Linked DNA regions of Homo sapiens: regions 2 and 3 are each linked to region 1. The links are contacts of gene promoters, found by promoter capture Hi-C in human tissues and cell types (Jung and others, 2019). All regions are on one chromosome and are shown on one strand. Each heading gives the region's core, a stretch centred on a gene start or on the middle of the fragment in contact. The rest is flanking DNA. Distances are from core to core; before and after follow the strand shown. Region 1 holds the start of FKBP1C (FKBP prolyl isomerase family member 1C). Region 2 has its middle 35 kb from the start of FKBP1C. Region 3 has its middle 51 kb from the start of FKBP1C.

The links. The method cuts DNA at HindIII sites, captures the fragments that hold promoters and counts their contacts. A contact is called where the count stands out against the background at its distance.
Region 2: a contact is called between a fragment that was not itself captured here and the fragment with the promoter of FKBP1C in region 1, in 5 of the 25 tissues and cell types used here (bladder, hippocampus, mesenchymal stem cells and 2 more).
Region 3: a contact is called between a fragment that was not itself captured here and the fragment with the promoter of FKBP1C in region 1, in 2 of the 25 tissues and cell types used here (heart right ventricle and thymus).

The regions. Positions count from the first base shown.
Region 1 is chr6:63,209,930-63,213,844 of GRCh38, reverse strand. FKBP1C (FKBP prolyl isomerase family member 1C) reads right to left here and starts at 2,376. Exons shown (of 1, transcript NM_001395980.1): 1 at 818-2,376. The coding sequence starts at 2,288. The coding sequence ends at 1,962. The HindIII fragment of the contact is 10,095 bases long and covers 1-3,915 here.
Region 2 is chr6:63,244,860-63,248,982 of GRCh38, reverse strand. No RefSeq gene overlaps it. Among named protein-coding and RNA genes, the nearest start is that of FKBP1C, 35 kb to the right of the region's middle. The HindIII fragment of the contact is 4,699 bases long and covers 473-4,123 here.
Region 3 is chr6:63,158,827-63,162,657 of GRCh38, reverse strand. No RefSeq gene overlaps it. Among named protein-coding and RNA genes, the nearest start is that of FKBP1C, 51 kb to the left of the region's middle. The HindIII fragment of the contact is 8,263 bases long and covers 1-3,831 here.

The DNA of each region.
Region 1 (3,915 bases), core at 1,127-3,626:
GGAGATCAATAAAGCATAACCTGAAGCTGCTATAATATGAATTAAGATGCGTTTTTAGCTGCAAGCATTTAATTTACATTTAAATATACTAGGATTTAGAGTGTTAAGTAATTGAAACTAAAAAGTCCGGTCAATAGTTTTAATCCAAGTCACCTATAAGTTACATTACTACTCTTCATTATAAGAATTGTACAACTGAAAATTCATACTGTTATAAAAATGCCAGGGTTTTGGTCTAGGTCCTGCAGCTCACCACCCTGAAAGCCAATCACTGAGACAATGAGAATTTCCAGGGAAGAAGGCTTTATTTGGGTGCTACAGCTGAGGAGAATGGGAGATGAGCCTTAAATTAGTCACCTCAACCAACTAAAACTAAGGGTTTGTATAGCAGGGAAGAAATGTAACTATGTGTGGGAAAACAGGAATTAGGGAGGGGTAAAGAAGAGGAGTTGGTCAACAGGAAGCAGGTGGTCACTTATGCGATCATGATAGGTGAGGAGTCTTTCATCTTATTGTCCAGATGTGGTGATCTCGTAAGTTTCCTTTCCTTGATACTGTCTGGAAGGCCTGATGTGTGGTTTCCTGAGAAAGGAACCCAGATAAGACAAATGTAACTTTCTCAAGTTTTAAGATGGGAGTCTCAATTTTTATGTTTATTCAAAAGAAACCATAAACAGCAGTTCTATGAGTAATTAGGCTGGTTCCATACCATATTTTTATTTATATTTAGTTATTTATTTAATTTTTTTATTTCCATAGATTTTTGGTGAACAGGTGCATACTGTATTTTTATTTTATTTATTTATTTATTTATTTATTTTTTGAGAAAAGCCAGCATAAAGCACTTTTATTGCAATAATAAAACTTGAGACTCATATATGGTGCTAGGGGAAGGGGGCAGCAACGATTCCTCTCACCAAATCACTACACAGGACAGCAAAGGGGTGAGAAGTGGCTGAGGGAGGAAAAGCCAGGAAACTCTGAGATCAGCAGAGGGAGCCAAGCATCAAAAAACAGGAGATGCTGAAGCTGGGATGACCAGCATCATTTTCTTAAGAGAACATTCAAGGATTTGTCATGATGGCTGGGCTTTCACTGGGTGTTAAGTCTACAAACAGCACCTTCAATTGAAACTGTCAATTAAAGTTCTTAAGATTTAGGAAGTGGTGGAGCTTGGAAAGTTATGAGATTACAAAATTCCTGAAAGTCCGTTAGAAAAACCACAGGATGAAAAAAAAAAAAAAAAAAATAAGGCCACAAAGAAGGCTTCAGAGGTCCCTGCTGGCCCAGGGACAGATACCTGTAGTGTCCAGCATCGCAGTGAACATGACCTGCTTTCAAAGGCAGAGGGTTTAAGGGGAGGGTGGGGTGGGAATGGTGGAGGCAAAGCCTCTCCCCATCCCCACCTCAGTTTTAGGTAGGGCTTTTAATTTAACCCAAGGACATCTCTCAACTTGGAGAATAATTCAGTCCTCAACAGTGCCTCAAATCTGCTATGGTTTTGCAGCGCAGCAGCAAGAATGTTTAATATATAATAGATAAAAATTTCATCCAAAAAATTAAAATAAAATATTCTTGCAACCCCCTCAACACCAATTCCTATCCTAACGTTAACTTATCACTTGTGCTGTTAACACTTGACCATGTACTTAATTGGAAACCTATATTCAAAAGACTGAAACTGAATCTTCACCCCAAAATGAAAAAGTAAAATGAATAACTTGACGTTTATGGCATATAGTTTAGGTAAACGCACATACCAGGAGAAAGGGGAAGAGGAAACAGAGGTGTCGGAAGCAAAGCTGAGTGACAGAACACATTCAGTTGGGGCAGATGTCTATACAAAGTGGAGTGGAACATCAGGAAAAGCTCCATATGGATTTATGTGCACACGTCTGGAGGCACCAGATCCCTCCATGGCAGATCCAAGAACAGGGAGCTAAGGGAGGAGGCCATTCCTGTCATTCCAGTTTTAGAAGCTCCACATCGAAGACGAGAGTGGCATGTGGTGGGATGATGCCTGGGTGCCCAGTGGCACCATAGGCATAATCTGGAGATATAGTCAGTTTGGCTCTCTGACCCACACTCATCTGGACAACCCCTTCTTCCCAGCCTCGGATCACCTCCTGCTTGCCTAGCATAAACTTAAAGGGCTTGTTTCTGTCCCGGGAGGAATCAAATTTCTTTCCATCTTCAAGCATCCCGGTGTAGTGCATCACGCAGGTCTGGCTGCGCTTCGGGAAGGTGCGCCAGTCTCCTGGGGAGATGGTTTCCACGTGCACTCCCATGGCGGCGGCCGACGCCGAGCGGGCGGGCAGCGCGACGGGCGGCGTGGACCGACAGCGACCTGGCGGCGGTTCCACGGCTCTGCCTAGTCCCTCAGCGCGTTGCCTGCCCATACTGTATTTTTAAAATCTACAAATTCTATATTAGTGCCTTCTGGGCAAGTGTGTTGAATGAGTCACTTAAAAATCTCTAAATAGGTTTTTTTTTTTTTTTCCCGTACTGGAAGTGTTACCATTTCCTTGTTAACTTTGTTAACTTTGTGTTTGGTCTCCCATTATCTGTGGCGGCTACGTTCCAAGATCCCCAGTGGGTGCCTGAAACCACAGAACCACAGATAGTACAGAACCCTATATATACTATATTTTTTCCTGTACATACATACCTATGATAAAATTTAATTTATAAATTAGGCACAGCAAGAGACTAAAAACAATGACTAATAATAAAATAGAACAGTTATAACAATATAAAAGCATCATTACTCTTGCACTTTGAGGCCATTATGAAGTAAAATAAGGGGTACATATTAAACACAAGCTCTGAGCTACCTTACAATTGATCTGATAACCAAGACAGCTACTGAGTGACTAACAGACAGGGAGGGTATACAGTGTGGAGATGGTGGACAATGGGATAATTCACGTCTCAGTCAGGTGAGAGTGGAACGGGATGGCTCGAGATTTCTTCACACTACTCAGAATGGTGTGCAATTTAAAACTTATGAATTGTTTATTTCTGAAGCTTTCAATTTAATATTTGCAGACCACTATTGACCATGGGTAACTGAAACTGCAGAAAGCAAAACTGTGGATAAGGGATACTATTGTATATATCTGGAGTTTGATTTAAAGGTCTAAAACAGATCTCTAAAACTTTTGCTCAAATGAATTAACTGTTGTCCATCTAAATAGTATGCTACGATTAGCGTAGCCACTATTGTCAGGTTTCTGCCAGAAGTATCAGTGTAGAGAGATATTTTAAAGAAAAAAGGAAGGATGTATATATTTGAAAGTTGTCCAGTACTTTGCATATAAACTCACAGTTATATTTTTCTTTCTGTGTGTTCTATTATGTTCATGTTAACTTAGAAAGAAATATGCTTTGAGTCTGGTTTACAAAGAACGATATAGATTCAGTAGTCTAAACTTAATGATTTACATACAGCTTTTTTAGTGATAGAAAACACTAGGTAAGTTAAGAAAGTTTAAGAGAAGCTGCTATTGTTCTTGAAAGCATGTATATTTAACTCTTTCTATGTGAAAAGAATGTTTTTGCATTCTTTGTTGCTGTAGATGTTATGTGTATATACCTTTTACTTTTGTAATTTTTAAAAAACAGTGGAATTATAAATTTCTTATCAACTTGTCTTTAGGTTAAATACATTTAGTGTAGCCTCTGCTTGCCATTAGGGCTAAGAACCTAACTACATTTGAAATAGAACCATAGTCGACTTACACTGCAAAAATTTTTTATTAGAATTCTTCTGATAATACTTCACACATTTCATAGCCATCTATATGCTAATATTTCCAACAAATTATCAGATGCTATTTCTACATAACCCTTTTCTCAACAAATGACCTGTCATGTTCATAATGGCCTCATTTTTTGGTGGCAGTTTTAATTTTA
Region 2 (4,123 bases), core at 1,573-4,072, 35 kb before region 1:
ACTTGCTCATTGTTTTGGATGCCAATATTTTAGTAGTTTCACCAAAATATTAGGTGACATAATTATATTTATTTATATATGTTTATATATATTTCATATGTGTGTGATGTATACATATATATACACATGAAATATATGCTATATACACACACATATGCCATATATGTAATGTATACAAATATATGGCATATATACAAACATGTTATATATTAATTTCATTTGGAATGGTAAAGGGGAGTTATGAAATATTTACAAAATACGTCATTGAATCTGATAAGGCTGGATACTATCGTACTAAAAATGGCACATTTGTACATAGGGGGATAAATTTAGAAACATCATTGTGGCATCAAGATCGAGGATGGGCTGCAAGATACTGAGACCTGAGACAAAAAGCAAAAATAATGAGAGCCTGAGGTAGGTAACTTTTATACATTTTAGAAATTGAAAATCATGTAAAGTTTTATTTGAAAGGAATGCCACTGCTAAGAAGGTTGAAAATCGTATTTAAAAATAAGTTTTAACAAATGGTTAAAGTTTCTAAGAAAATTTTAAAAAGTAGAAAAATGAAAAAAGTCATTTATGATACCTCACACCTGGTAAACTTTTACTATAAATATTTTTGTTAAATTTCATTTCTGTAAAATGTGTAGGCATTTAACACTATCTTCAGAAATGACTTTTGAAGTAAGATACATACCTCCACGTGGCGCCTCCTCCAACAAAATCAAATGAAGCAGAAGATTCTAATATAAAGCATAAAGTCTTCCCATCCCCTGTCCCAATGCCTAGAGACAATTACTTTTTACTGTTTTTATTCTTGTTGACAGGATAGCATCAAATATTTTTAATTCCAATTGATACGGGATCTCTTGGTCTATTCACCACATAATGGAAGTGTGTATGTGTGTGTAGGTAAAATTGACATACAATAAATTACACATTTTTGAAAGTACAATTTGATGTTTTCATATATGAGTAGAGCCATGAAACTACCACCACAACCAAGATGAACAATTTCATCACCCAGGAACTTTTCTTTTTCATCTCTTTTCCCTCCCTTCCTGCTCTTCCTCATCCTGTACCTCTCCTTAAGCAATCATTGATCTGCTTTCTGTTGCTATAGGTTAATTTACACTTTCTAGAATTTTATATTAATGGAATCACACAGTGTGCACTCTTTTTATTTGCCTTCTTTCATTCAGCATAATTATTTTGATATTTAACAGATTGCTGTGTATACCAATAGTGGATTCCTTGTTATTGCTCGGGAGTGTTTTGTAGTCTGGATAGCCTACAATTTATTTATCCACTTACTTACTAACGGACATTTAGGTTATATAAAGTTTTTGGCTATTACTTATAAAACAGCTATGAAAATTTGTAGTTAATTCTTTGTATAGATGTGTGCTGATTTAATTTCTCTTTTATAAATAGGAGTGGAAGGGTTGTGTTATAAGAAAAATGTATATGTGCATGTACATGCACAGAAAATATCTAGAAGGATACACATCAGATGGTTTATGGAGCTATAGCTAGCAACAAGAAGTGTAAGGAAAGGAAAAAAGGGGGCTTAGACTATGCTTTTTGTTGTTGTTGTTGAGACGGAGTCTCGCTCTGTCGCCCAGGCTGGAGTGCAGTGGCGCAATCTCAGCTCACTGCAAGCCCCGCCTCCCGCGTTCACGGCCATTCTCCTGCCTCAGCCTCCCGAGTAGCTGGGACTACAGGCGCCTGCCACCACGCCCGGCTGATTTTTTGTATTTTTAGTAGAGACGGGGTTTTACCGTGTTAGCCAGGATGGTCTCCATCTCCTGACCTCATTATCTGCCCGCCTCGGCCCTCCAAAGTTCTGGGATTACAGGCGTGAGCCACCGCACCTGGCCTATTTTTTGTTGTTATCTATATTGTTTGAAATGTTTAAGATAATATGTTCATGTATTTCTTTTGGAAAAAATTTTCCCAATATTATTGAATTCTTGTAGAAAAAAATAACTTTTTAATGCAAGACTGAAATTTCTAGTCTTCAGCTCCTTTCCCCTGCATTGAGGTAGCTCTTTAAATTACAAGATTTTAGACAGGATTTTTAATTAAGTTGAGATTTCATAAGAAAACATTTTTAGTGTTAGAGCAGAATGAGCTTCCAGGTTTTGCATATGTAATTTTCTGTATGTGTGTATGTACATGCATATGTATGTGGATTGGAATGCAATTAAAAATTTTTTTTCAAGCATAATTTAGGGAAATCAGTCTGCAAAGATAGAAGCTTGAAGAGCACACTTGCTGTTTAGAGGAATAAGGATAACCCATGTATTTATCTTTAAATTATGCTCATCTCATTAAATTAAACTGCTTTATACATGCCAATAAAATGTCAGGTATGGCTAAAATAAGATAGGACAGATAGAGGAAATAGTCCTATTTTCAAATTGTACACCTGTTTTAATTGGAGAAGGAAAGGACTTTTCAATTATTTAAAGAAAACCTCTGAAAATAGGGATTCACAGCATGGTAGTCATTGAGCATAAATTCTCAAAAAGCCACAGCTCATTCTGACCACCAAGCCTTCTAAAAGCAAAGTGCAAGTAAATGTAACTATAACATATTTCTAGAGCAATTTCCTAGAGGCAGTGGGATATGAGTCTGGGGGGTTTCACTGTTAGTTCTTTTACTTAGTTTGTGACCACTTAATATTAGTTTTATTTTTTAAAGAAGGGATAAATAATAAATTCTGATGGGTCATGAGAATTGTATGCATACAATAACAAGACAAGAACAGAAAACCAAACACTGCATGTTCACACTTATAAGTGGGAGCTGAACAGTGAGAACATATGGACACAGGGAGGGGAACAATACACACTGGGGCCTGTAGGGGGATGTAGGCAGAGGGAGAGCATCAGGATAAATAGTTAATACTGCTGGGCTTAATACCTAGGTGATGGGTTGATAGGTACAGCAAACCACCATGGCACACGTTTACTTATGTAACAAACTTGCAGGTGTCCTGCATGTGTATCCTGGAACTTAAAATAAAATAAAATAATCTCTCTCTCTATATATAAAATAAGTTAAATGAGAAAAAATACATAAAGTATATCTAATGCTTAACATCATAAATAACAGCAAATATTTAGGATTGCCAGATTTCCTGAACTTAAAGTAATCACAAGTATTTCTGGATTCCTAGAATATTCCAGGGAAAAGCTAAATACTCCAAGTCGCCATCTACTGCACCTCTGGCCCCATATGTTTCTGTCCATATTGGATGAGTTCCAAGACGAATTTCAGTATGAGAGGTAGCATGATGCAATAGTTAGGAACCTGATAGTATAGGTCCTAAACCTGAACTTGCCACTAAATAGTGTGTGAGTTGGATCAATATTTACCCTCATGACTAGTTTCCTCATCTACTTCCCCCATTTGAGGATTGTGAAGATTCACTAAGTTAATATGTGCTGTTGATGTTTAGGACAGTGCCAAGCTCATTGTAAGAGCAATACAATGTTTGCTGTTAGCTTGCAGTTTTTACCAAAATTGAACCATGCTATTATTGTTGCAGTGCCTCACTATGGAAGGAGAAAAAAACATTTTTTTTTTTCTGCCTCTACCACATATACTGTGAGCATTACTCTAACATCCTGATCCCCAAATAGAGTACATCGTCCTTTTAAGGATACAGAGAGGACTTTTGCGTGACAGTCCATCTCCAAGTAACTTCATGCATCCCCTTTCTCCCGAGGAATTAGACACGAATCAGCAGGGTCAGTCTTTCCCTTTAAGTAGTGTGTAAGGGACAAACTCAGCTGCCTATTTGTCTCTATCCCAAATGGTATGGGAACTGGGGATGTGTTTTTTTTTTCTTTTTTTTTTAAGACTAGGTCTGGTTTTGTTGCTCAAGATGGAGTGCAGTGGCACAATCTCTGTTCACTGCAACCTCTGCCGCTTGTTTTCAAGTAATCCTCCTACCTCAGCCTCCTGAATAGCTGGGACTACAGGTGCGCATCATCACGCTGGGCTATTTTTTTTTTTTTTAATTTTTTTGTTGAGATGGGCTTTCGCCATGTTGTCCAGGCCGGTCTCGATTCCTGGGCTCAAGCCATCCACCCATCTCAGCCTCCCAAAG
Region 3 (3,831 bases), core at 212-2,711, 50 kb after region 1:
TGTAAAAAGGCACTTGTGGTTGATTAAACACATCAGCTTCATTTTGCATTTAATCAAATGCAGAGGCCATTTATTACTCTGAATACTTCAGTATCCTGGATATAAGACCTTGATTAATTTACACTAGCTAATTGAAGAGCATTTCAGGTGCAACTAATTATAACAGAATAAATTTTACTCCTAGACTCCACTCCAAAAATTTCTTAATATATGAGCATTAATGAGAACTGATGTCCATCCAGGAAGGCCATGCTGTATTTGATTTGGATAATCAACTTGCAGCCATCTATAGTTTAAAACTAACATTCAACATAATCTATATCATCATTTTCTTCTGATGTTCATAGATGCTCAACATTTTGTGTTTTCTAAAAATATGCACAATTCTGATGTTTTAAAATAAGATAAAAGAGTATTTGACAGTACATTTATTTTGTTCTCAAAATACAGTAGCAGTCTCATTTCATTTTTAATGCTATAAAATGAAGGTAATTTCTTTTATTCCTTCAAACTGCAGTTGTGAAGGAATCTTTGGCCTTCTACAAATCTTTGGCCTTCTACATTTAGTGTATTCTTTCTTTAAAAATGAACTTTCTACCAATTTTGCTAATATATAGTACAGCTGGCACTTAATAAGAATTAAGCAGATAAAGTATGTACATTTAAAAGGGAAATTTGGGAAAGAGATGTCACTTTAAATTATTATATTAGGCTATTTTCAATACTGTGTCTTGGAATTATGCACCACCCATACTTTAGGGACTTCTCTTACAAAGATAGGATGTAGTATGTGGAAAACTAAATAATACAAATAAAGCTACATATAGAGTCAGGATAAAGCTAACAAATTTTATCATCATGATGACTGTATTTTATCATAAAAAATTTATTGACCATATTTATTGAACACTGTGAAGATTAAAAGGAAAAAATGAAGTATGTTAAATAGGCTATTGAATTTTCAAGTAAATGAAGTATGCTAAATAAGAAATTGAATTTCAAGAGAAGTACTACAGGAAAATGATTTGTGTGTATGGATGTATATAGCTAAATCTTTTCTTCAAAAAATATGTCCATGGCTACTCATATCTAAATAGACATCTTAATCTCAGCCCTTGGAAGAAATTGAATTCAAATTAAATCTGATCATCTAGAAATAGCAAAGAGTAACTGCTTTTAGAGGTTAAGATAAATTCCAATAATTAAATATCTCTAGAATCTAAATTATGGCACATGTTGAAGCTGCTTATTCTATATTTAGGCTCGTATCTGATACTATGTCAAAGTTAAATTCCTGACTTCTTAATCACTTCTAACATTTTCCCTCTTTCATTTTTTCTGAAGACCTCAGTATGTCAGTGGATGATACTGTTGTTTGCTTAGCCAAAGCCAATCCTTTTACTTCCTTGCTATGGAAACTCTCTCTTATTTGGGTGGCAGTGTGTCCAGTGCCAGGGGATAAAGCACTGTGTGTCTATTTCAGTCATTATAATTTCCTTTTTTCCATGCTTGGTCTAGGTGTGGAGATGCAACTTGATTTCTGACCAAATAGATTTAAGGATAAGGCTGATGGGAGATGTATTAGGTAACTCTTGCTGCGTAACAGACCTCTCTTAAATGTAGTGGCTTTAAAAAACTAAACATTTATTTAACTTATGGTTTTATGATTTGACTGGGTGTTTCTTCTGGTGAAGATTGGCTCCACTGATATGGCCTGGGCTTGCTCATGATTCTGTGTTCACATGGCAGGTGGGCGGGTGGTTGTATGATCTAGCATGACCACATTCACATGTCTAGTGTTTGGCAATCTGTCAACCAGGGCAAAATGAATAATTAGGCCCCATGTCTCTCACCATCCAGCAGACTAGGGCAGGCATTTTCACATGACAATTGTAATATTTAATAAACCAGGAGTTGAAATGTGCAAGTTTCTTGAGGTCCAGCCTTGAAACTCTAACAGCATCACATATGTGCATTACATTGACCAAAGCAAACCACAGATAGCACAAATTTTTGGATCGGGGAAATAGGGTCCATCTCTTGATAGAAGGAACTGCAGTGAACTGTGGCCATTTTTACCATCCACCACAGGAGGATGCCTCTGGGAAGATATTTTTTCTTTTCTGTTTGAAAGAGTTACTCAAGTGAAAAAATTATGTTCTACTTCACCTCTTTCTTATTGCTTTCAAATGTCTTAGGACTTGATGGTTGGAGCCATCACCATAAGGAGAAGGCCAAGAGAACCTCAGATATGTGACACCAGGACCACAATATTATTGAATAGTTGAGTATCACTGGATCCTCCAACCTCTAGATTTTTAAGTAAAAGACTAAGTGCAGCATTTAAGCCAGATTAAACAAGCATTTTATTGCTTTTGGCAACCAGGAGTGAGATGGTATAATACAAGCATTATAATTGACATTAGAAAATGAGTCTAAGCTAAAATGATTCTATCAAAACCAACTAGATGGGAGCTTTTTGCTCTGCCACATTGTGTAGTTCCTGATCTCATCCTGTCCTTTCATGTGAGAATAAGCACCTTCCTCATATCAGGAAGATTACAGATTACAAGTGTTTCCCATTACAGCTGAATGTACTGCCTCCATTCGTTTTCGACAGTTTGATTGCATGTGATTAAAAACAATGTGTAGGCTGGGTGTGGTGGCTCATGCCTGTAATCCCAGCACTTTGGGAGGCTGAGGCAGGAGGATCACTTGAGGACAGGAGTTCAAGACCAGCCTGGCCAACATGGTGAAACCCCATCTCTACTAAAAATACAAAAATTAGCCCGGCATGGTGATGGGCACCTGTCATCCCAGCTTCTAGGGAGGCTGAGGCAGGAGAATTGCTTGAACCCAGGAGGCCGAGGTTGCAGTGAGCTGAGATCATGCCATTGCACCTCCAGCCTGGGCGACAGAGCAAGACTCTGTCTTGGAAAAAAAAATGTTTATTTTTTCTTCAAATTTTCTTTACATGTATCCTAAATATTGTTTATTAACTGTTTTCAAACAGTTATATAGTATATGACTGTTATATACTATATTTGTTATTTATATATAACATTTATATATAACAAATATACTATGTAACAGTCATATACTATATAACTGTTATTTATATATAACAAATATACTATATATTTATATCGTATGTATATTATATATATAGTATATTTGTTATGTAGTAACAAATGTTATTGTCTCGTTTACTGAGAAGATATATTAAAATATCCTATTGCAATTATGGATCAAATCGGGCTTATAACTGCCAAGGTATTTGTTCAACATTGGGAGTCAATATTACACGAGCATACAACTTTAGACATTTTTTTCTCTCATGTAAATTTTTCTTTTTATGCTTCCATAGTTACATTTTTTTATTTTGATAGCAATTTCTCATTCATTTATAGTACAGAAAGTTAAATCATGTTGTAGTGAGTGACCTCTTGCAAAAGACCAACGGAACCATACCTTTTGTCAAAAAGGTTGTAATAAATTCTGGTAATAAATACATGGTCTTAGACAATACAAAAGAGAAGAAAAGAAAATTAGTTTGCAAAGTGGAATACTATGTTTATGTTCTGCAAACTTAGTACTATTTTCGTTGAAAGTGTGTTTCATTCTATTGCTGCCATACTGAAAATAAACATTTTATATTTAATCCTTCCAATTATAGACAAGCCAAGAATTTTTATAGTAGCTTGTTTTCTTATAGAAATACACATACTCTCAGCTTCTTTGCAATAGACATTGTCTTAGTTTTATCAAAATTTTATATCAATTTTATTAAAGATATTATTTTAAAGAAATTAAATTTGAGTTTACATATTT